Linked DNA regions of Homo sapiens: region 1 is linked to region 2. The links are contacts of gene promoters, found by promoter capture Hi-C in human tissues and cell types (Jung and others, 2019). All regions are on one chromosome and are shown on one strand. Each heading gives the region's core, a stretch centred on a gene start or on the middle of the fragment in contact. The rest is flanking DNA. Distances are from core to core; before and after follow the strand shown.

Region 1 (5,491 bases), core at 2,992-5,491, 130 kb after region 2:
GTATGTGGGTGCACATACGCCTGTGTATATAGCGAGTCAGTGGGCTTGTGTCTCCTGGGTATTGTGCCAGGCATGTGGGTGAAGGCGCTGGAGTTCCTATGTGGCTTCGCTCAGCACCAGGATTGCAGACGGGTAGGGGCGGGCCTGCTCTGGGAGGAGGAGGGGAGGAATCATGTGCCCACCCACCCCCACATGGACCGGCTGCCCACCCTCCAACGTGGCAGCACGCAGGACAGCCCTTTTTGGATGGAAGGCCCCACGCTCCAAGAGAGAGAATCCAAGATTACAGAAATCGTGTTTTCCTGACTCATGCCTTGGGCTGAGAGCACATTCTTGGCTCCTGGACAGCATCTCAAAGAAGAGCTGCCTATAGCAGCCCTGGCTCCCTGAGGGAGGGGGCCGACCCTGGACTGGCTGTCGGAGCTTTCTGGGCTCCAATTTTATACCAATGTAAAAAGAAGGGGATTAAACTTCCTTCCGATTAACGTTCTATAATTAAAAGTGAGACACTAATGACGGTGCCCAGCACAGGCCTGGCAGCGGCAAAATGGCCCATAAATGTCACTTCCTTCTCGTCCACTCCCTGCCTTCCCGTGGATATGGCATAAACAGACCTGATTCAAAACCCAGCTCTGACTCTGGCTTGTTGTGTGCCCTTAACCCTGTTGCTTAGTCTCCCTGATCCTCAGTTTCTTCATGCTGAAAATTGGAACATTCTTCCTTACCTGAAAGGAATAAATATGATAATAAATGTGAATGTGTTGCACACTTAAATGACATGCAAGTTTTTGTCCTAGGATTCTATGGGGTGAAGACTGAGTGAATCTAGCCACTGGGGCCAAAGAAAGCTGTTTCCACAGCACCTGGCAGAACTGGGCCTACATACCCCCCTGGGTCATTAGAGGGTACTGTGGGAGAAAGAGGGCTGGGAGTCCAGGGCTTAGGCTCCAGCCCAGCCCCACCTCTGATATGCTGTGTGACCTTGGGTAAATTCCTGCCCTCTCTGGGCTTCCGTTGTCCTCTCTGTATAGTGTGGATGCAGTTGGACTTGATGGTTTTCTACTTTCTGCTGTCCACACCTCTCGGGACCTAGGGATCTAGAGGATTTCCAGCCAGCCTCCACGTGCCAGGCACCAGGACCACTTCCTTCAGTGAAGCGAGGCACTGGAGGAGTCCAGAGACAAAATGCTTGAGAGTTTCTCTGCTTATCAGACTCTTCTCCCCCACCCCCTAAAAGAGTGCTTTTTCCGGAAAGCTCTGCCTGGAATGTGGGGGAAGGGCCACAGTCAGTCTGGGCTGGGCTCAGAGCTAAGAATATTGTGGCAAAGGCTCTTGACTTTTTTTTTTTTTGCTGATCTTGGAAATTTAAAGGAGCCGTTGCTTTCCCTTCTTCAGGGAGGCTGTGCTAGGGGCACAGCAGCCTCAGGCAGCCACTTCTCATCCCCTGGCCAGCCATGCTTACCCAGTGCCTCTTCCATACTGTCCCCTTGCTGGAGCTGGGGACTCACAGTGACAAGGAAAAGGCCCTGCCCTTCCAAAGTCTCCAGTGATGGTTCACTGACAATACAGGGTGATAACAGAGATAATGCAGCAGTGGGATAGGTCACAGAGGAGGCTTCTGACCCGGTGTGAGATTAGTGGGGGTCGGATGGGGGTTGGGCCTTCAGACCCAGCCCTCCTTAGGCCTCAGCTTTGCTGTCTGTAAGGGCAGGTCCTCTCTTCAGTGACCACTCATGATACTGGGTCTATTTAACAGCATGAGCTTTGGTTTATCCCTCAAAATGGGACAGTCACAGCACTCTCAGTCTCCCCCTCAGGTGTTGGTGAAGCCTAAAAGAGCTAAGAGATGTAAGAGAGTAGAGGAAGGGAGTCTCACTGGGATTGTGACATCTGAACCTGCTGAAAACCCAGGCGACCCTCTCTGTTTTGCCAGCATTGATGGGCACTCTTTGTTTCTGCTCTGCCCTGCCCTCAGCTCACTGACCAAGTCACAAGGAAGCCTGAGGGCCAATGTGGGGGTGGGAGTAGAGAGTGGGGTCTGGCCTGGGACCCGGGAGGTCTCCTTGGATAAACAAGAATTTATCTTTTTTTTTTGAGATGGAGTCTCGCTCTGTCACCCATGCTGGAGTGCAGTGGCATGATCTCGGCTCACTGCAAACTCCACCTCCCAGGTTCAAGAGATTCTCCCGCCTCAGCCTCCTGAGTAGCTGGGATTACAGGCACATGACACCACAGCTGGCTAATTTTCATATTTTTATTAGAGATGGGGTTTCACCATTTTGGCCACGCTGATCTTGAACTGCTGACCTCAGGTGATCCACCCACCTCGGCCTTCCAAAGTGCTGGGATTACAGGCATGAGCCACCGCGCCCAGCCTAGAATTTATCTTTAAAAGCAATATACAGTTGAGGCAGGAGGAAGCACATGAGAACCACGACAGCCACCCCAAAGAGATGGACACCATGCCAAGGCTGGAAGCTTTTGTTAATAATCAGACCTGTCCTAAAAAAGAATGCGGGGCTGCCTCTGAAGGAGGTAAGCTCTCTCTTCTTAGAGGTGCCTCGGTGCTTGCCTTTTTGGGATACTGAGAAGAGGGCTTCTGCCTGGGGCTGCAGACAGGAACCCCTGACCTCTGAGATGCCTTGCAGCTCAGAGTCTTTAATACATTTATTCCAGAATCCTTCGACTCTGAGATTTTAACATGTTAAGATTCCTTAGCTGGATTCAAAGACTCCTTGGGGGCTTTGAGTGGAAGTAATCTCTGATTCCTTGACCCTGAATCACAGAGTCTGAAGCTTTTGGGATCTGAGATTTCCCACAGTCCTTGTACTCAAAAGACTCTGAGCTGCAGAAGCCTACCCAGACAGAGAGGTTTGTCACCACCACCAGGCTTCCCCACAACCACTAACAGAGGGCAGGGACCCAGGTGATTGACTCATTTGCTGGGTACTGGGATTTTTTTGCTCCCCAGGATCCAGGCAAGCACCTAGAAGAAAGAAGATACTCAATGCATTCATTCATGACTGAATGAATGAAGAGTCCCTACCCTGTCCCTTCCTCTCCATACTGCGTCCATCCAATAGCTATCATTAAACTACTAAAGAGGACTTTTCGGAGGGTAGGGAGCCTCGGCTGATCAGAAATTGAGCCACTGTCGCCCAGATTATTTAGGGTTTCCTAAATAATCTGCCTCACTGAATCACTGAATTCCCTACTAACAGGTACATACCCCACAGATGGACATCGCACAGGGCAAGGACTTTGTTCAGCTCTCAGCTGTGTCCTCAGCACCTAGAACAGTAATGAATACCCTAGCTTAACTTGGAGGTCAAGGAGCTATCAGTTTGCGAGGGTGGGGTAGGAATTGACAGTGAGACCTGAGGCCTGTGGGAGGGGACCCAAAGAGGGAGGGGATGCAATAGGGAGGGGGCCAGGGGTGACAAGGATTGAGGAAGGGAGAGAGGGGGGAAAAAAAGCAAGGGATGCCTTAGAACCACATTTCACAGCCAAGGGAACAGAGGCCCAGAAAGGGAAAGTAACCTGCTTAGGGTCACACAGCACCTTGCTCAGTGGAGAGCCAGGTTTTCCTTCCTGTGCACTCCTCCAAGCCCAGCCAGACCACCTGAAGTTCCCCAGGCATCTCTGCCTCTATTACTCCACGACTTGAACTTTCCGGGTGCCGGGCAGGTACCGGGTCTGGTCTGCTCCCTCTCCCTCTGGCCATCGCTGAGGTTGAGGTTTTTTGAATGTACAAGTATGGAGAAGGGCACTGCCTTCAGAAGCCTGAACGTCTCCCCTGAGAGGGAGGGGGTGCACAGGACTCAATTGTTTCAGCTTGAAAATGGGGGAGAGCGGGGAGAAGGGGAGATGGCTCTGCTTGGGGCAGAGCCCCTGCGGGGAAAGGGGCGCCTGAAAGGACGTGCGATTCGGAGTGGGCTAGCTTATGCAGAGAGCCTGGGGGTGGGAGGAAGCTCGCACTCTGAAGGACACGCTGATCCCCGTGGGGACTCCCGGCGCCCCGCAGCCCGGGCCGCCGAGGGAGGCAGTAGGACCCAGGGGCCGGGAGGCGCCGGCAGAGGGAGGGGCCGGGGGCCGGGGAGGTTTTGAGGGAGGTCTTTGGCTTTTTTTGGCGGAGCTGGGGCGCCCTCCGGAAGCGTTTCCAACTTTCCAGAAGTTTCTCGGGACGGGCAGGAGGGGGTGGGGACTGCCATATATAGATCCCGGGAGCAGGGGAGCGGGCTAAGAGTAGAATCGTGTCGCGGCTCGAGAGCGAGAGTCACGTCCCGGCGCTAGCCCAGCCCGACCCAGGTGAGGGGCGGGAGACGCCTGCGTGCGTGCGGCCCGGGGGAGCGCCGAGCAATCTGGGGGTGCGCGAGGGAGTAAGAGGGGCGAGGGGACCCTGCGAAGCGTTGGGTGCCGAGCCAGAGCCTACAAATTGGAGTCCTCGGCACTTTGGGGGCCGCTGGAGGGTTTGGAATCGAGAGCCCAGGGCTAGCCAGTGATGGTGCCAGCTGAGGGCTAGGGCGGAGATCGGAGCCGGGTTGGGAGTCCGTGCACTCGGAGGACTGGGAAAAAGTGCAGGGACCCCTAAAAGGTGGTGGTGGCAGATACGAGACTAGGTGCTGTGTAAAGGGGGCTGGGGGCAGAGAGCAGAGCCTCTGCGGAAAGAAACAGAGGAGGAAGGAGATGGGTCTGGTGCCTCTTCCCGCAAGGGTAGGGAGGATAGGCCGGCCTCGCAGTTCCAGGTCACTTCCGTTCTGGGGTTGAGGCTCAGGGGCAGCGGTGATTGGTGGCCCAGCCTCCTCACAGGCTTGCTGAGGGAATTTGAGCTTCCGGTGGTGGGAAAGGAGGTGAAATCGTCTCGACTCCTGGGGTCCGTGTGCTCTGGTAGAAGTGGGCGACAGTGGCTCAATTTCTGATCAGCAGCTTGCAGCCTAGATGATGGCAGCCAAAGGAAAGACTTGGCCAGCGAGGCTCCCTACCACTCCGAAAAAAGAGAGTGGGGGTCAGCAGGGTCTGCTCTGCTCTGGGGATTAAGGGGCTGACTAGAAGGATTTGAGTCTTTCCTTCTGTCCACTGCCACAGGGTTCTTGGAGTAACTGCAGGGTTTAAACTGCAGGGTCTAACTTCCAGAGGCTGGGGTTCCCTGCCCCCCAGCTTAGAGACATTCCTGAGGTGGCTGAAGAGCAGGAAGGAGAATGAATGCACTTCCAGACTGGCCCAGAGTCTCAGCCCCTCCTCTTCCTTGTTTCCCGCTGGTCCCTCTGGGCTGTACGGCCCGGATGGAGGCCTGAGGAAAATGAGGGGGCTTTGGTTCTCCGGAATTCCGGCCGGGGCCACACCCTCCTGTCTTCAGATGGTTCATGTACCCATCCCCCCTTCCCGTCCTCTCCTTTGTCTCCTCTGTCACCGGGACTCCCAGCAGAGATTTTTTTTTTGTACTGGCTGTGTAACAGGACACCGCATGCAGCCCTCAGGAGGGGCTCTGTGC
Region 2 (5,385 bases), core at 2,760-5,259:
CTGACGCCACCAGAATTTCCATACCCTTTTAGCCATTGGTTTTCTAATTCCTTTGGCACATATTTGAGGATCTCTGTCCCAGGCCCTGTGCTTAGTGTTAGAGAGAGTGTCGTCTCTGGGGGCATGATTAAGGGCTACTCTGCCCAGAGCCTCCCAGTCTGGCTTTCCAAAGGTGGGGCAGGCTGCTTTCACTACTTCCCCATGCCCCTGCCTATTTCTATCCCTCATTAGACTGCGAGCTCCCAGAGGGCAAAGAGTGTTTTCAAATCACTTCCGCATCCCGGCACCCTGCACAGAACTTGCGTAGAGTAGTAAGTACTCGGAATTACGGTTGCATGGGCCAAAGAGAGTGTGCGCAGCTGTGGGGTCTCTGCATCTCCCTCACTGGCTTGTTAACTCTTCAAGGGCAGAATTATGGGCACCGAGCCTCTAAAATGTTGAACGAATGACTGAATATCATCAAGAGGCAGTACTAAAAGATGATGAAAGAATGAATGAGCGGTGGAAGCAGGCGGGAAGAACGGAGGGCGGGAAGCTAGGGGATGGCGGCCCTACCTCCGCGGCCGGGTCCGCAGCGCACCGGCCTCGCGGCCCAGGATGAAGCAGGCGCGAGCCTCGAGCAGCAGCGGGCGGCACTCGCCGCAGGCCTGCAGCAGCTCGTCCGCCTCCACCTTCTCCAGGAAGTAAGCGGGCGCCAGTAGCGGCAGGCGCACGTGCTCCAGCAGGCGTCGCAGCTGGCCGCGGCGGGCCGGCGCGTCGTGGCGCACCCAGCGCATGGCCGCTTCAAACACGGCCTCCTCGCGCGCCACGCCCAGCGCGGGGTCCGCCAGCAGCGCCACCACCTCGTCAGGCGCCAGCTCCAGGAAGTCGGCGTGGCGCGCCACCTCGGCGAAGGCCTGACGCAGGACGCGGCCGCAGCGCTCGGCCAGCGGGGCCAGCGAGAAGGCGGCGGCCACGCGGCGCAGCGCTAGGCTGTTGGCGGCGCGCAGGCGGCCCTCGAGAAAGCGCACGCAGGCCTCGCGCAGGCCCGCCACGCCCAGCCGCTCCGCCAGCGCCAGCACGGCCGCCGCCTCGTCCTCCGCGCGCAGCCGCACGCCCGCTCCGTACACGTAGTCGAGCACCACGGCCAGCGCCGCCGCCGCCCCGGCCGGGCTCGTGCCTGGCGCCTCGGGAGCTACTGGCACCACTGGCACCACGGCCGGGCCGCGCTCGGGCCGCCCGGCCGCGAACAAGCTGCGGAAGTAGGCGCTGCCCGCGCTGAGCGCCGCGCGGTGGCACGGAAAGTCGCGCCCGCCGGCGCGCAGCACCACGTCGGTGAGGGTGCCGCTCCGCCGGTAGGCGTTCAGGGCCTGCAGCACGCGCTGCGCGTGGCACGGACCCGCGCACGGCGCTTCGCAGCCCGGCTCCGACTCCTCCGGCGCATGGCCTTGCCGCATCCTGCCGGGGAGAGAACACAAACAGCGTCGGGGAAGCCACCTGGCTGCGCCCGGGAGAGGCGACAGCCCTCATCCGTTTATTTCCTCTCTTGACCATTTGTTCAGCGACTCTCCCCTCCGTTCAGCATCCAGGTTCCTTACGGCTACAGTGCCCCAGCCCCGCCTCACCAGCGCGACATTCTGCCCTGCCTACCCACTCAGACACAGTGCCCTTTTCGGTTCTTCAAACTTGCTAAGCGTTTTCCTATCGATATCTGCAGGTAACAGATGGCACGCTCTCAAACAGGGTAATCGGAGGAGGGTCTAATAAAGGAACTATTTTCAACAGCGGAGTAGGCGTTAGGGACTCCAGTAGGAGTAGGGCTGTGTCCCAGGATACTAACAGCAGGGCGCCTTGGCCGCCCCGGGGTCTGTAGCGGGAGAGCAGGGAAGTTACTGGAACCTGGAAATATATCTGTGTAAGGAGGGTCCCGTGACAGGAGCTGAAGCCCTGGGTCAAGGGACTCAGGCTGCCCCACAGAGACCCAGTGTGTGCATGTGCAGGGGAGAGAGGGTACAATAACTCCACCGCCCTCTGCTCAATCCAGCCTGTCTCCTGCCGATCTCCGGTAGGTGCTGGACACTGACCACACCCTGAGCACTCCCCTGACAGACAGCATCATACACACAGCTTTCGCGCAAACGAATTCGACAAGTATTTATTGGGAGCCCTTTCTGTGCCAGGCAGTGAGCAAGACAACCATAGTTACGGTGTGCCCGGAGCTCCCAGCCTGGCGGGGGTGCCATGGGGAGGCACCGGGTGTTAGGGGAGTTCATAGAAGGGCCGCTGGACCCAGGTGGAGGGGAGTCAGGGAGGGCGTCCCTGAGGGGAACCTTCCAGCTGAGAAGGATGGGCGAATTCTGAAAGGTTAGAGCCCAGGCTGAGGGAAGCTGGCCCTCTCTCTAGTGAGTTCTCTTGGTGTTCTCCAGGTAGCACCGTCAGAAAGTGGAAAGAACTCTAGGGACAAATGGGGATTCTAACCCAGTGCCTGCCACAGGCTTACGGTGTGGCCGGGGCAAGTCACTCCTCTCACCTGCCCGCCCTGGCCTCAGTTATCTCATCTGAAATGGGATCATCATCCCTACCTCACAGGGCTGTGGCTTCATGACTATTACATGGGCTGTATGAAAAGTGCTAGTACACAGTACGAGCTACATGGGTGTTTCCCTATATTGCTTTTACTCAAGAGGAAGGGAGGACACTGTGTGTGCCAGTTGCTTTTATAGACATAATTTAATTTCATCCTCACAAGCTGAGAAGTTTCTTTAGCCCACACCTGCCCCTTTAGTTTGTCATAAGGGAAACAAGCACACACAGGACACCCGCCCTTCAGAAGTTTGCGGCGAGGCTCAGCAGAGGGGTGTTTGTGAAGGCGCTCTGCAGACTGAGGGGCTGGGCCATGCTGGTTATGATTTGGCCATTATGAACACAAAACCTCTGCTTGCACACCTCCAGGGACAGGGAGCTCCCTCCTTTCCATCAGCTTACTCTAGGGGGCTCAGGTCCACCCTCTGCGCCCTGCCTCTCCTTCCATCCTCCTGCTCCCAGCTGCTCTGCTGCCTCTGGAGGTCAGATCCCGCCTAGTGTCAGCCTGGCTTTCATGCCCTGGTCATCCAGGGCAGCGGATCCCCTGGTCAGCATCATGAGAGATGAGCTCCCTGGTGGGCAAGAAAGTTAACTACTTTTGCCCAAGTAGAGCGACTGGATCCTGAATCCACCTGGCTCCAGGGTTTGCATGCCACACTTGCCAGGGTGGGGGTGTGTCCCAAGGAGCAGCCAGGACCGGTGGAAGGAAGTGAGACCGGTCATCACAGCACGCTGCAACCAGTCTGTCCTCCACTGGCTCAGAAAGCACAACCATGCTCTGAGTTGAGACTCAAGAGGGCAGGTCTCATCAGCATAAGGATGGACTTCTTGCAAAGGTGCCCCACAGCACAAGCAGCTCCCTGGGGGAGAAAGAGTCCCCTCCTAGGAAGTGTGTCAGTACTTTTTCATTTTACTGTCTACTGCGCTGGGCACTCTGGACACACAGTGACATCAGATCCAGCATTCACTCTGGGGATCCCCAGTCTGGGGGTCAAACGACACCCAGTTGGAACACAGAAGGTAAAAATTCCCAGGTAGGGCTCAATGGGTATCCTCCCTTCTCGGCTGAGTCTAGGCACTTCAAGCCAGGGGTCATGATGCAGATTGAAGGGCCCAGCCTATAGAAGCTGACTCGAACATGCCACCATCACTCTTTTACACACCCACATCCACTTGAAGCCATTACCCAAGCACCTCCTCCGCATCCTCCCCATCTCAGACTTGCGGACACCACGCAGCCGGGTCAGCCCTGCAGCCTAAGCCTTGCCCCATGCACCTGGCACTTACCTGGCCATACCCTCTCCCAAGTGCTCCGCAGCTGCTGCTCTCACAGGTATCACTCCCGTTTGTGCCTGCCGCCCGCACCCCTGGCAGCCCAAGCTCCAGTGTTCATGCTGCTCTGCCCAGACTCCCGTTTGCTGTTCGCTCGGGCTCAGCTGCGGGAGGACAAAGGGGCTGGACGCCAGGAGGGAGGGGAAGGGAGGGGAAGGGAGAAGCGAGCAGGGAGGGGGATGCTGGGCTTTTGTTCCACTCTTGGACTAGCCCTGGGAGGGAGGGAAAGAAAGGGGGGGCATAAGAGTGGGATTGACTGTGTGTGGAACTCCAGGATTTGGTATGCCTGGGTTTGGGGGTGACCTGGTGCTGGCCTTGTCCCGGAATGACGATGGGTTCGAAGGTGTGTGGTGCTGGAGTTGGGGTGTGGGAGGGGTGTCATCATGCAGTTGTAGGCATGTAGGTTTCAGGGTGACTATGCGTGATTGTGGAAGTACATGGAATGAAGTGACTGTGTAGCATTGGGCTGCGTGTGGACATGTGGCTGTGTGACCATGTAGATGCCAATGTGACTAAGCATGTGGGGCGGGGGGCACAGTGGCTCTGAGTCTCATTCCCTTGAGCTCAGGGAGAGGCGGGAGCTGACCTCTGCCCCAGGAAGCAGAGCACTTGCCAGACATTCAGTAGCAGGGGCAGGAGGGCCGGTCCTCGAGGTTACTGTGGGGGCCCAGTGGAGCTTCCAACATTTGCAGAGGGCTCTTTTCTTTTTTACCTATAAGGTGCCAGAATCTCCTAGACCCCAAGAATTCTATCCAGAAGATCCCTGTTTGGAAGAGACACGTCCCTTGGCTCCCAGGAAGCATGGAGTTAATTTGATGCAGGCTGGAGCTGGGGCTCAGCTTCCCCCTTTTCCCTCAGGTCACACCCATGACCAGGCAGACTCTCAGGACAAAGAGGGGAGTTACAGGCCTGCTCTGACACCACCACTGACTCCTGCCCACAGACAGCAGAGGTCCCAAGGACTGGAAGGAAAGGACACCTGTGGTCCCAGGGCTGTACTTTGGCTTTCAGCTCAGGTGCCCCCAGTCCTGGGCATGGGCATGGGCCCTCCTCAGGCAGGTCCAAAGCTCGGAGAAGTCAAAGCCAAACTCCTGGCATGGGGAAGAGGCCTCCCTGTGCTGAGGGCTTGTCCCAACATAGCCGGGAGGTTCAGAATGCCTTCATGTGGCTGTGAGGGCACCTGCCAGTCCCACTCCCAGCCCTACATTGGACCCAGGAGCCCTCCCCCTCTGCGTGTCATTCCTAGCTTATGGGAGGCACACATATGCGCTGGGGCCAGAGTCTGGATGGGATTCTGGCTTGGCCTGTTCTAAGCTGTGTGGCTTTTGGAGGTCACTTTACCTCTCCAAGACTGTCTCCCCATCCACCATATGAGGATACCGGCTCCCAGCCACTGGCACCATGGCGGACCCAGGGAAGGGGAGGCACCATTCTGCCACTTTCCCATTCATTCCTGAGAATGGTTCCTCCTCAGATTATAGGGTCAGAACT

The links. The method cuts DNA at HindIII sites, captures the fragments that hold promoters and counts their contacts. A contact is called where the count stands out against the background at its distance.
Region 1: the fragment with the promoter of SERPINH1 here is called in contact with the fragment with the promoter of KLHL35 in region 2 in 2 of the 25 tissues and cell types used here (IMR-90 fibroblasts and small bowel).

What each region holds. Positions count from the first base shown.
Region 1 is chr11:75,558,012-75,563,502 of GRCh38, forward strand. SERPINH1 (serpin family H member 1) reads left to right here and starts at 4,242. Exons shown (of 5, transcript NM_001235.5): 1 at 4,242-4,308. RefSeq lists cis regulatory regions at 233-463, 936-1,786, enhancers at 799-1,340, 3,922-4,461, 4,462-5,002, 5,003-5,491 and silencers at 3,978-4,237, 4,248-4,297. The HindIII fragment of the contact is 16,066 bases long and covers 2,637-5,491 here.
Region 2 is chr11:75,429,194-75,434,578 of GRCh38, forward strand. It overlaps KLHL35 (kelch like family member 35), which reads right to left and starts at 4,010. Exons shown (of 7, transcript NM_001039548.3): 1 at 3,850-4,010; 2 at 556-1,437. The coding sequence starts at 1,436. RefSeq lists silencers at 990-1,039, 1,120-1,359 and an enhancer at 2,648-3,534. The HindIII fragment of the contact is 12,939 bases long and covers 1-5,385 here.